3 separate regions of the Homo sapiens genome follow, and regions 1 and 2 are each linked to region 3. Evidence: promoter capture Hi-C in 16 types of primary human blood cells and fetal thymus (Javierre and others, 2016). All regions are on one chromosome and are shown on one strand. The core of a region is centred on a gene start or on the middle of the fragment in contact, and the rest is flanking DNA. Distances in the headings are between cores, read along the strand shown. Region 1 has its middle 30 kb from the start of ANKRA2. Region 2 holds the start of LINC01386 (long intergenic non-protein coding RNA 1386). Region 3 holds the start of FCHO2 (FCH and mu domain containing endocytic adaptor 2).

What was found. The method cuts DNA at HindIII sites, captures the fragments that hold promoters and counts their contacts. A CHiCAGO score of 5 or more calls a contact.
Region 1: a contact is called between a fragment that was not itself captured here and the fragment with the promoter of FCHO2 in region 3, in 1 of 17 cell types (neutrophils). The highest score is 5.2, in neutrophils.
Region 2: a contact is called between the fragment with the promoter of LINC01386 here and the fragment with the promoter of FCHO2 in region 3, in 2 of 17 cell types (naive CD4 T cells and neutrophils). The highest score is 5.3, in naive CD4 T cells.

What each region holds. Positions count from the first base shown.
Region 1 is chr5:73,533,740-73,536,765 of GRCh38, reverse strand. No RefSeq gene overlaps it. Among named protein-coding and RNA genes, the nearest start is that of ANKRA2, 30 kb to the left of the region's middle. The HindIII fragment of the contact is 7,488 bases long and covers 1-3,026 here.
Region 2 is chr5:73,471,684-73,474,766 of GRCh38, reverse strand. It overlaps LINC01386 (long intergenic non-protein coding RNA 1386), which reads left to right and starts at 1,801. Exons shown (of 5, transcript NR_126410.1): 1 at 1,801-1,894; 2 at 2,820-2,882. The HindIII fragment of the contact is 6,957 bases long and covers 1-1,940 here.
Region 3 is chr5:72,954,054-72,957,373 of GRCh38, reverse strand. It overlaps FCHO2 (FCH and mu domain containing endocytic adaptor 2), which reads right to left and starts at 1,333. Exons shown (of 26, transcript NM_138782.3): 1 at 1,245-1,333. The coding sequence starts at 1,277. FCHO2-DT (FCHO2 divergent transcript) reads left to right here and starts at 1,490. Exons shown (of 2, transcript NR_186392.1): 1 at 1,490-2,360. RefSeq lists a silencer at 741-1,440. The HindIII fragment of the contact is 4,273 bases long and covers 1,242-3,320 here.

The DNA.
Region 1 (3,026 bases), core at 189-2,688, 580 kb before region 3:
TCTCAAATTCCTAGACTTAAATCCTCCTGCCTTGACCTCTCAAAGTGCTAGGATTACAGGCACGAGCCACCGCACCTAGCCATGTTCACTCTTATGGATGGCAATGACAATTATAATGCAAACATTTTAGCTGTTAGCTTGTGGGACAAACCTCTTCCAGGGTGGAGAGTGGAGTCAGCAGTACACATGTATCACCCTTTAATCTCTCAGTAGTTTCCTATTCTTGCCTCTGCAAATTATCTCAAATTTAGTGGCTTAAAACACACAAATTTGTTTTCTTAGAATTCTGTAGAAGTCCAATGAGAATCCCTCTTTGCTAAGATCAAGGTGTCGGCAGGTCTGTGTGTCTCCCTTTCTGAAAGGCTTAGGGGAGAATCCGCTTCCTCACCCTTTCCAGTGTCTAGAGGCTGCCACAGCCCCGGGCTCTCAGCCTCTTCTCGGTCTGTAAAGCCAGCAATGCCGCATCACTCTGGCCCCACTTCTGTCATCTTAGCTCCCTCTGATTCTCTCTTCTGCCTCCTTCTTTGACTTTTAAGAGTGGTTGTGCGGCCGGGAGCGATGGCTCACACTTGTAATCCCGGCACTTTGGGAGGCCGAGGTGGGCGGATCACCTGAGGTCAGGAGTTCAAGACCAGCCTGACCAACATGGAGAAACCCTGTCTCTACTAAAAATACAAAATTAGCCAGGCGTGGTGGCGCAAGCCTGTAATCCCAGCTACTTGGGAGGCTGAGGCAGGAGAATCGCTTGAACCCAGGAGGTGGAGATTGCGGTGAGCCGAGACCGTGCCATTGTACTCCAGCCTGGGCAACAGGAGTGAGACTCTGTCTCAAAAAAAAAAAAAAAAAATTCTGTTGTGCTTACACTGGCCTCACTCAGATAATCTAGGATAGTCTTCCTATTTTACGGTTGACTGATTAGCAACCTTAAATCCTCTCTGCCATGTAACCTAACAAAGTCACAGGTCCTGGGAATTAGGATGTGGATATCTTTGATCTCTGGGGGCCTATTATTCTGCCTACTAAAGTCCTTCTCTGTCTTCTACAATACTTAAAATGAATCTCAAAGCCCCAGTTTAAGAAAAAAGTGGCCATTTCCCCTTTCTCTTATCCATTGGTGTAGCTCTCCTTGAATGGTTGCCACGATCTTCAAAGAGAGGCTCCGAGCTCATTACTGTCTCCCATTTACAGTGTTAAGAAGGTGCTTCAATTTCTTTCCAGGATGAGGAAGTCATTTCAATTTGCCATAAATCTCTGTGCCCATCACTGCCCTGACCTTGTAATAATTAAATCTGCTACATGTCTTTTTCCCTTTCAATAGCTAAAACCTCAACCCTCCTCCTGAGGAAAAACATCTGCCCTCAGCCTTCTCAGAGTGTCTATCACCTTCACTTTCTCTGTCTCGATGGTTTATGGGAAGTCTTTTGACTAAAAGACAATGATTTGCTCTTGTCTTTTAAGCTGCCTTCATTTTGCTGAGTTTCTGATTATTTTCATCCTCCAACTGTGGTTTTTCCAGAGTCAGAGAGTTCCAGGCACAGAGCTTTTCTCTAAGCTCTCAGCTTGTAACTATTCTACCAAGTTGTTTAACCATCTCAATCCAAGAAGAGGATACAATCTTTGTATAATAGGAGTCCCCATTCCTCTTTTTCTGTTCACTGAGAAAATCCTTATATTAAACTGAACCCATAATCTGGGTCCCTGACATCCAAGAACATACTCAGAATTTATTTAATGACTATGTGAGGTGTTGAGCAATCAGTTTAGTCAATTAGAACAACAAGCCGCACTGAGAGTCATGGCTTTATTCATTTATCGTAATGGTGCAAGCAAGAGAAGTGCTGGCTCCCCAGGGTTCCATTTTCATCATGGAACAGCACTGAAAAATAGAAATGAAATCCTAAGCCCCCCAGCTGATGGAACAGACCTCCTCTTGGCCAAGGAGACCCCAGAGAAACCTTGAGCCTGAGTTCCCAACAATGATGGGATGGAAGGACAGACATACCTCGTTATGCACCCTCCCTCCCTCACTGCCTGCCATTGGGCTTTCCTCCACAAGGGCTGAACAGAAACCAGCCCTTTCAAAAGACCCCACCATGGATATCCACCAACAGCCTGACACTGCCCCTCCTTTTTTGCCTGATAAGTGACCACTGACCAGTGGTTCTGGCCAGTCTATGGAAATGCACAGTGAGGGTTTTTGTGTCCTCTGTCACACCTTTTGACATCAGAGGGCTGAAAACTACACCCTCAGATCATACTAATGCCGATATTGTTTGAACGTGAGTCCCATGGAGAGGCATGAAGCGCCATTGCATATGCACATATCTTTTCTTTCATAACTATCCATGACTCCTCCTTGAATATGTATATTTGACCACCTTGCTCAGCATGAATTCCTATTCCCTTTGCCCCTCCCTCAAAGTGTCCGTTTCTGGCTTCTGGCCAAAGGCTATGCTTCCCAGCCTGTCAGAATGGCCACCCTGCAGGCTGCAACCCTTTACAAGAAATAAAGCTCTCCTTTCCACATGTAGGGACTTCATCATTCTTCAGTTGACAGCATGGAGCAAATGGGTTGAGTCACCACACTGTCCAGAAGCCAAGAATAGAAGGCTTGTGCCTCTTCATGACTGCCTGTGGGCTTGGGGAGAGAGAAGAGTGTGGGGGCCAAGGCCCTTGACTCCCTAAATGTTCACTGAAAAAATTACTGACATGAGGCAGATTAATAGGAGACAAGGCATACGAATTTATTTAATGTGTATATACAAGAGCCTTCAGAATGAAGACCCAAGCTCCCAGTGAGGTACAGGAGCTTGTATACTGTGGATGAAAAGAGCCAAACTCCATAAAATTTTGAAAAGATTAGTTCTGAGTAAAATATGAGTGACCATGGCCCAAGGCGTGGTCTCACGAGATCCTGAGAACATGTGTCCAAGGTGGTTGGGTTACAGCTTGGTTTCATATGTTTTAGGGAGACATGAGACATCAATCATAATGTACAATATACATTGGTTCCATCTGAAAAGGTG
Region 2 (3,083 bases), core at 552-3,051, 520 kb before region 3:
TCACCACTGTACTCTAGCCTGGCAACAGAGCAAGACTCTGTCCCAAAAAAAAAAAAAAAAAAGAAAAAGAAAGAAAAAAATCAGGCAGGTGGATCACGAGGTCAGAGGGTGAGACCATCCTGCCCAACATGGTGAAACTCCATCTCTACTAAAAATACAAAAACTAGCTGGGTGTGGTGGCGTGCACCTGTAGTCCCAGCTACTCGGGAGGCTGAGGCAGGAGAATCATTTGAACCTCAGAGGGGGAGGTTGCAGTGAGCCGAGATCATGCCACTGCACTCCAGCCTGGGTGACAGGGAAAGACTCCATCTAAAAAAAAAAAAAAAAAAAAAAATTCAAAACTGGTACTTTTCTAGCAAAAGCAACAGTTGAAAATAACTGATTTTCTAAACATGAATGTTTAACTTTTGCTTCATATGAAAAAATAACTTTTTTTTTTTTAAGAGGCAGAGTAGCTCGAGTGTAGTGGTATAATCATAGCTCACTACAGCCTCAAACTCCTGGGCTCAAGTGATCTTCTTGCCTCAGCCTCCCAAGCAGCTAGGAATACAGGCTTGAACCACCACACCTGGCCAATTTTTCTATTTTTTGTAGAGTTGGGGGTCTCGCTATGTTGCGTATGCTGGTCTTGAATTCCTGGCCTCAAGCAATCCTTGTGCTTTGGCCTCCCAAAGTGTTGAGATTACAGGCATGAGCCACTAGGCCCAGCTGAGAAAATAACTAGACAGTCATTATTTATTCCGATATTGTTGATATTTTTTCTTTTCAGCACTTGACATATTTATTGATAGTTGAATAACTTTTGTAGGATTAAATAGTAAAATATATATCATTTTAATTTAATTCTCAAAGCTCAAGTCACACACAAAAATACTGAGGATCAAATATAGACAATATACTCAAGGCAGCCGATAACAGCCAATAGGCACAAAAAGGCCACCTCTAATGGACTGAGCAATCAATTGAGAAGTCCCCCAGTCACAGCCATCTACTCACCATAGTTTTGGTACCAATCTAGAATACATTTTGTGTATCTGCTATGTCAATACCAACCCCACTGAGTTGGGAGTCCTTGAGGGGCAGGCACTCTTTTGATCACCAAGCTGGTTTCTTTGTTTGGATCCCTGCAATCTGTTGTTGAAATGAGGTGTCCAGATTTGAATATAGTATTCTGACACAAAGTGGAGAAAAAGGTTATCTCTTCCCCTTTTTTAGACAGCATTTATCTAGTAACACAGTCTAAGATTGCATGGGGTGAGGAGTAGCCTGAATGGCTCTCTAAAGTCTGTTAGTAGTGGGCCAGGTGTGGTGGCTCTCACCTGTAATCCTAGCACTTTGGGAGGCTGAGGCCAGAGGATCACTTGAAGCCAGGAGTTCATGATCAACCTGGGCAACACAGTGAGACCCCTTCTCTACAAAAAATTTAAAAATTATCCAGATTTGGTGGTGCATGGCTGTAGTCCCAGCTACTAGGGAGGCTGAGGTGGGAAGAGTGCTTGAGCTTGAGAGATCAAGGCTGGGAGTGAGCCATGATTGCACCACTGCACTCCAGCCTGGGTAATAGAGCAAGACCCTGTCTCAAAAAGAAAAAAAAAAAGGTCTATGCATAGTGAACTGAAATCCCTAAGCCTTTCCTTACATATCCTGCTGTTATGATGAATTGTTCCTGGAACATAGGTGTGACTGGCATTCATACTTGTTACATTTCATTATTAGAATCTCCCCATTATTCTGTCATGTTGAGATATTTAAAGATTCTGATTCTATCATCCAATATATTTATTCATTCATGTATTTATACTTGCTTTTCTAAAGATATTTTCATAAAAGTTAATAAGAACAGAAACAAAAAAATCAGTATGAGGAAAAGAAGCAAAATTTCCAGTTCCTAGAGGTAACATATGTGCTGAGTTTGGGCATGTGAAGTGTAAATCTAAGCTTTACCTTAAAAGGGAGGATTATATTCTTCTTTATGCATCTTCCATTGCCGGGAGAGAATGGGTCTAAACAGGTTGTCTTGGGAGTTATACATATTTACTTTTTCAAAATAAAATACACTTGGCACCTGAGATTTAACCACTTAATATATATCAGCATACACTGTAAATTGTAAATATAACTGGAAAAACAGAATTTTGTAAAAATGCAAAATATGGTCTTTTTCATGCCCATAATACAATAAAGCATTTTATCATTTTGACCATATTAACTTATGTTAACAGTATGACATCAAACACGGAGTCAATGAGCAGCACAATTTTGGGGGAAAAAAGATCTTACTACTGATATTCTCTATAATAAAGGGAAGAGAGTGTTTTTGACTTGAATTTTTTGGACATTTGGCCGAATCCTTTACTCAGTGAGAATTGACTTGGCTTATGAGAGTTAATTCATACCATTTGGAGGCTGAAGCAGTTATAAAGCTGCTTTGGAATGTCCTAAATTGGGCCTAAGAGACCTGTTTTTGACAGATGCGCTCATGTAGTCCAGTCAATTGGCATATGGAATTTTAATGTACAAGCTAGTGCAAAAGTTTCTACATGTAACATTTATTAGTGCTCCTAGTGGCATGGAGAGACAGATGGTACACACATTACATGCAGAAGCGAGCTTTGCAATTGGCCTTACAGGCCCAATTTTGCTCAGTTACCTAGGTCCCTTAACTGCACCCCCATACTCCCCACCCCCACACACGTGTGAGAGCCCAAATGCCCAACCCTTCCATCTCTCCTGCCCCAGAGTCCACTATGGGAACCTCCCTTTCCTTCCAATTGCTTGACTTGAGATCTCCCTTCTTTCTTGCCCTTTCTTTGGCCCAGATCCTCACCTCCTCTGGATTTTCACATCCTCCAGCTGGTCCAGCATGAGCTCTGGAGGCTAAGGTAGGGAAGAACATTGCCTTACAGCTGTTCTCAGTCCCCACCCACCCCTAATATTAGTCTTGGCAACATTCATCCCATTTCCTCACATTTATCCCAGACTCCTCTCCTGACATCTCAGCTCTAGAAATGAAATGCTCAGGTCTACAAGAGCTGCAGAGAGATCTTCTGTCCCAGATAGTCCCAAAGAAAACTCAGGGGTGG
Region 3 (3,320 bases), core at 84-2,583:
GACTGCTAATGGGTCTAGGGATTCTTTCTGGGATAACGAAATTGTTGTAAAACTGATATGGTGATGTTTACACAACTCTATGAACATATGAAAAAACCTCTGAATTGTACTACACTTTAAATGAGTGTATTGGTACGGAAATGTGAACTCAATAAAGCTGTTTAAAAAACAAAACACCTAAGGTCTAGTATATACGTTCTTTGTGGAAAACAAGGTACATTCAAGACAAATAAATAACTATGAACTGATCTGATTACTAACCAAGACCATGCTTGAGGCACTTAGAATTAAGAATTTAACATACATTCCTTACTAGCTAAAAGATTACCCCTTTAAATATGTCTAAATCTCAACGAAAATGGACCTGCAGTACTTGCAACTGTCAGGGCATAAAATGGGATTCACGAAAGATACCTGAGTAAACACGTTCCTTTCCTGTACATGGCTGAACTGTACTTCCCATTACAAAAAAAAAAACAATAACTGCAGAAAAATACTCCACCGGGAGCCGGAGAAATTCTCAAAGAAGAATCTAATACTGAGCTAAGACAAGGGGTGGAAAGAATGAGGAAGGGGAAGGAGCACAGAGTAGGGGGAGGTCTCCATGCATTTAAGCCCAAGGAGTCCAGTTACATTAAATCCAACTTTTAAACGCTTTGTGAACAGGCCCAGAGGCAAAGTCCTGGGCGCAAACCCACGAGCCGAGCTGCGAGGCTGAGAGGAAGTGCTAGTCCAGCCCAACCCCGCACTGGATTTGGTGTGGAAACCGTCAGAGGTAAAAGGGATCGCTCAGATGGGGGGCCCGCGGTGAGGGCAGGAGGCAAAACCCCACCGCCCGGCGCTCCCAGCCAGCGCGCAGCGGGAGGCGGCTGTGCCGCGGGCCCGTCCTTCGCGTCCGAGCTGCCGCGCACGCCCCGCGCGGAGCGCGGCACCGGGAGCCTCCGGTGGGGCTGGGTCCCGTCTCCCGCCCCATCCGGCGCTTTGTCCCAGCCCCGGTGGCCGGCGGCCCCGCTGCGGGCCCCCGGGCCGCGGTGACAGCCCCCGTCCCCATAGGGCTGCGAGCCCGGGAGTCCCTATAGGCTGGCGACCGGTCGCCCGCCGGACCTCACCCAGGCGGGACGCGGCAGGAGGACGCTCGCCCTGCCGGAGGGGCCGCCGCCGCCGCCCGAAGCGCACGCAGGCCAAGCTCAGGCGCCAAAAGCCTTGGACTTCGAAACACACGACTTCCAACATCCTAAGCTTACCCAAAAATTCTCGACGAAATACGCCATGACCATCGTGCCGCCGCCGCGCCGGGTTCCGCGTCCGCGCCCGCCCGCCGCTGTGTAAACACGGCCCGGCCCCCACAGCACCCCCGCCTTTCGCCGCCGCCGCCTTCTTCCCAGAGACCGGCCCGCACCTTCCAGGGCGCATGCGCCACCTAGCGGCTGCCGCAGCTGGGCGAGCACTTAGACGCCACGGCCACGGTGTGCGCATGCGCCCTGTCCCCATTCTCGGGTGTTGGTAGATCTCTCTGCATCCCGGGCGCGGCTGGGTTGAGTGTTCTCTTAGGAATGGTGGAGAACTGGGTCCTTGAGGAGTCACCGGGGAGACTGCTCGCACTGTTTGTGGTGCGACGGGCACTGGCCCAGGGACAGAGGGAAGAGAAGGGCCAGCCAGCGGCAGTGGAGTCGGCAGGCTGGCTGCCCACTCGCTTTCTCTCCTCACAAGACTCGCTTCCCCGGCCTTCGAGGATCTCGAACGGACTATAGTCTGGACTCGCTGGGCTGGAGGAAACTTGGCCGCTGGCCACCCGGAGGAGACTGAGAAGCCTTTGGTCAACAGGGCGCCTTTCCTTGAACCAAAACAAAACTTTCCGAAGCCGGAAAGGAAACGCCCAGTGTCGCCTGAGAGCCCTGGAGCTGCGCGAGACCCAGGCACTGAGTGCGGCCTCGGCCTCTGACCTCTAACACGCCGGGAACAAACCAGCTGGGGCGGCCCGCAGGCCTGCGGGAGCGGAATGTGACCCGAAACCGACGGACTTCCTGACCCATAGTCCATAGTTCTCTTCAGCAACTTGAACATTTTGGAAAAAGAAACAAGTCTTAACATGCCACGACCTAATGGAAAAACTAAATCCCCTTCCTACACCTTGCTTTCCAAAAGTTAAAAAAAAATAGTTAAACGCTATTAGAGGTCTCAAGTTCACTGTCACCAGATCAGCTAGGTCCAGAATCTTCAGTTCTTGAAGCCAAGCCCTACAAATAGATTTATTGTAGCATATCACACCTCTTCAGGTGACTTAAAACAATGAGAATTCATGAGAAATTATCTTCATCCTCAAGTAAAAATCATGAGGTGCCTTTCACATGGATGAAATTGTAAGTGCTTGTTGAACAAGGAATAATTGGATAATGGTATTGTGGTCATACTTTTTAAGAATATCTGTTAGAAAGATATAGGATGCAGAACATCTAGGATTTGCTGAAAGTCATTTATTATGGATAGGGGTATGAGTAAGGTCATAGATGAAAAGGGATGAAACAAGATTGGCCATAGTTGCTCTATTTTTGTGTATCTTGTTTCTTTATTTTGTTTCTTTAAAAAGTCCTCATATCACTGACATTTACACTTAGTTTTAGGGAAAGTCAAATTTAGAAATAAGCTACAGCTCTCTAAGCTATCGGTCTAACTGGATTTTTCTCGATGCTGAAGAACTTTTTAAAAAATTCAGCCATCTAGGTCACACAGCAAATACATTTGGCATTAAATTCCTAGTATCACTAAAGTACTCCCTCCCACCGCCGCGCCCCCCCCCTTCCCCCCGCACCCTTAGACCTGGGCAAGAGAGACTTCTATCCTGGACTCCATGCTTTAAAGGAACTTACATATCACACACACACATTAATTTAAAAAAAAATAGGTGCCCCTGCCGCTTGTGATCTGATACTGAACACTGGCTCATAACCATAAATTCCCTCTCCCAGTGAAGAACACTATTCAGGCCCCAGGAAAACTCTTCTTCCTATCTTTTGTCTTCTGTCCTCAAAACAAACGGTGAACTCCAAAAGCAGTGAAAATTTGTACATAGCATGGCTGCCCATTTCAGAGACTGCTTTGGAGTCAGAATTTGAGCAGCAGAAATGCTTAGGTAAGAGAGAAGACAAATTAACTTGTCAAATCCTTCATCTCAGCTTGAATGCTATAGATTCCTGCATGACAAAGTATTGTTTCTCAGTAGTATCAAGCATACATTTTCCTTTTGTTAGTGTTCCAATGTGTGGCTATTACCTACAGACAATTTAGTATAGTATTCACAATAGTTACTGGCCTTCATTCGC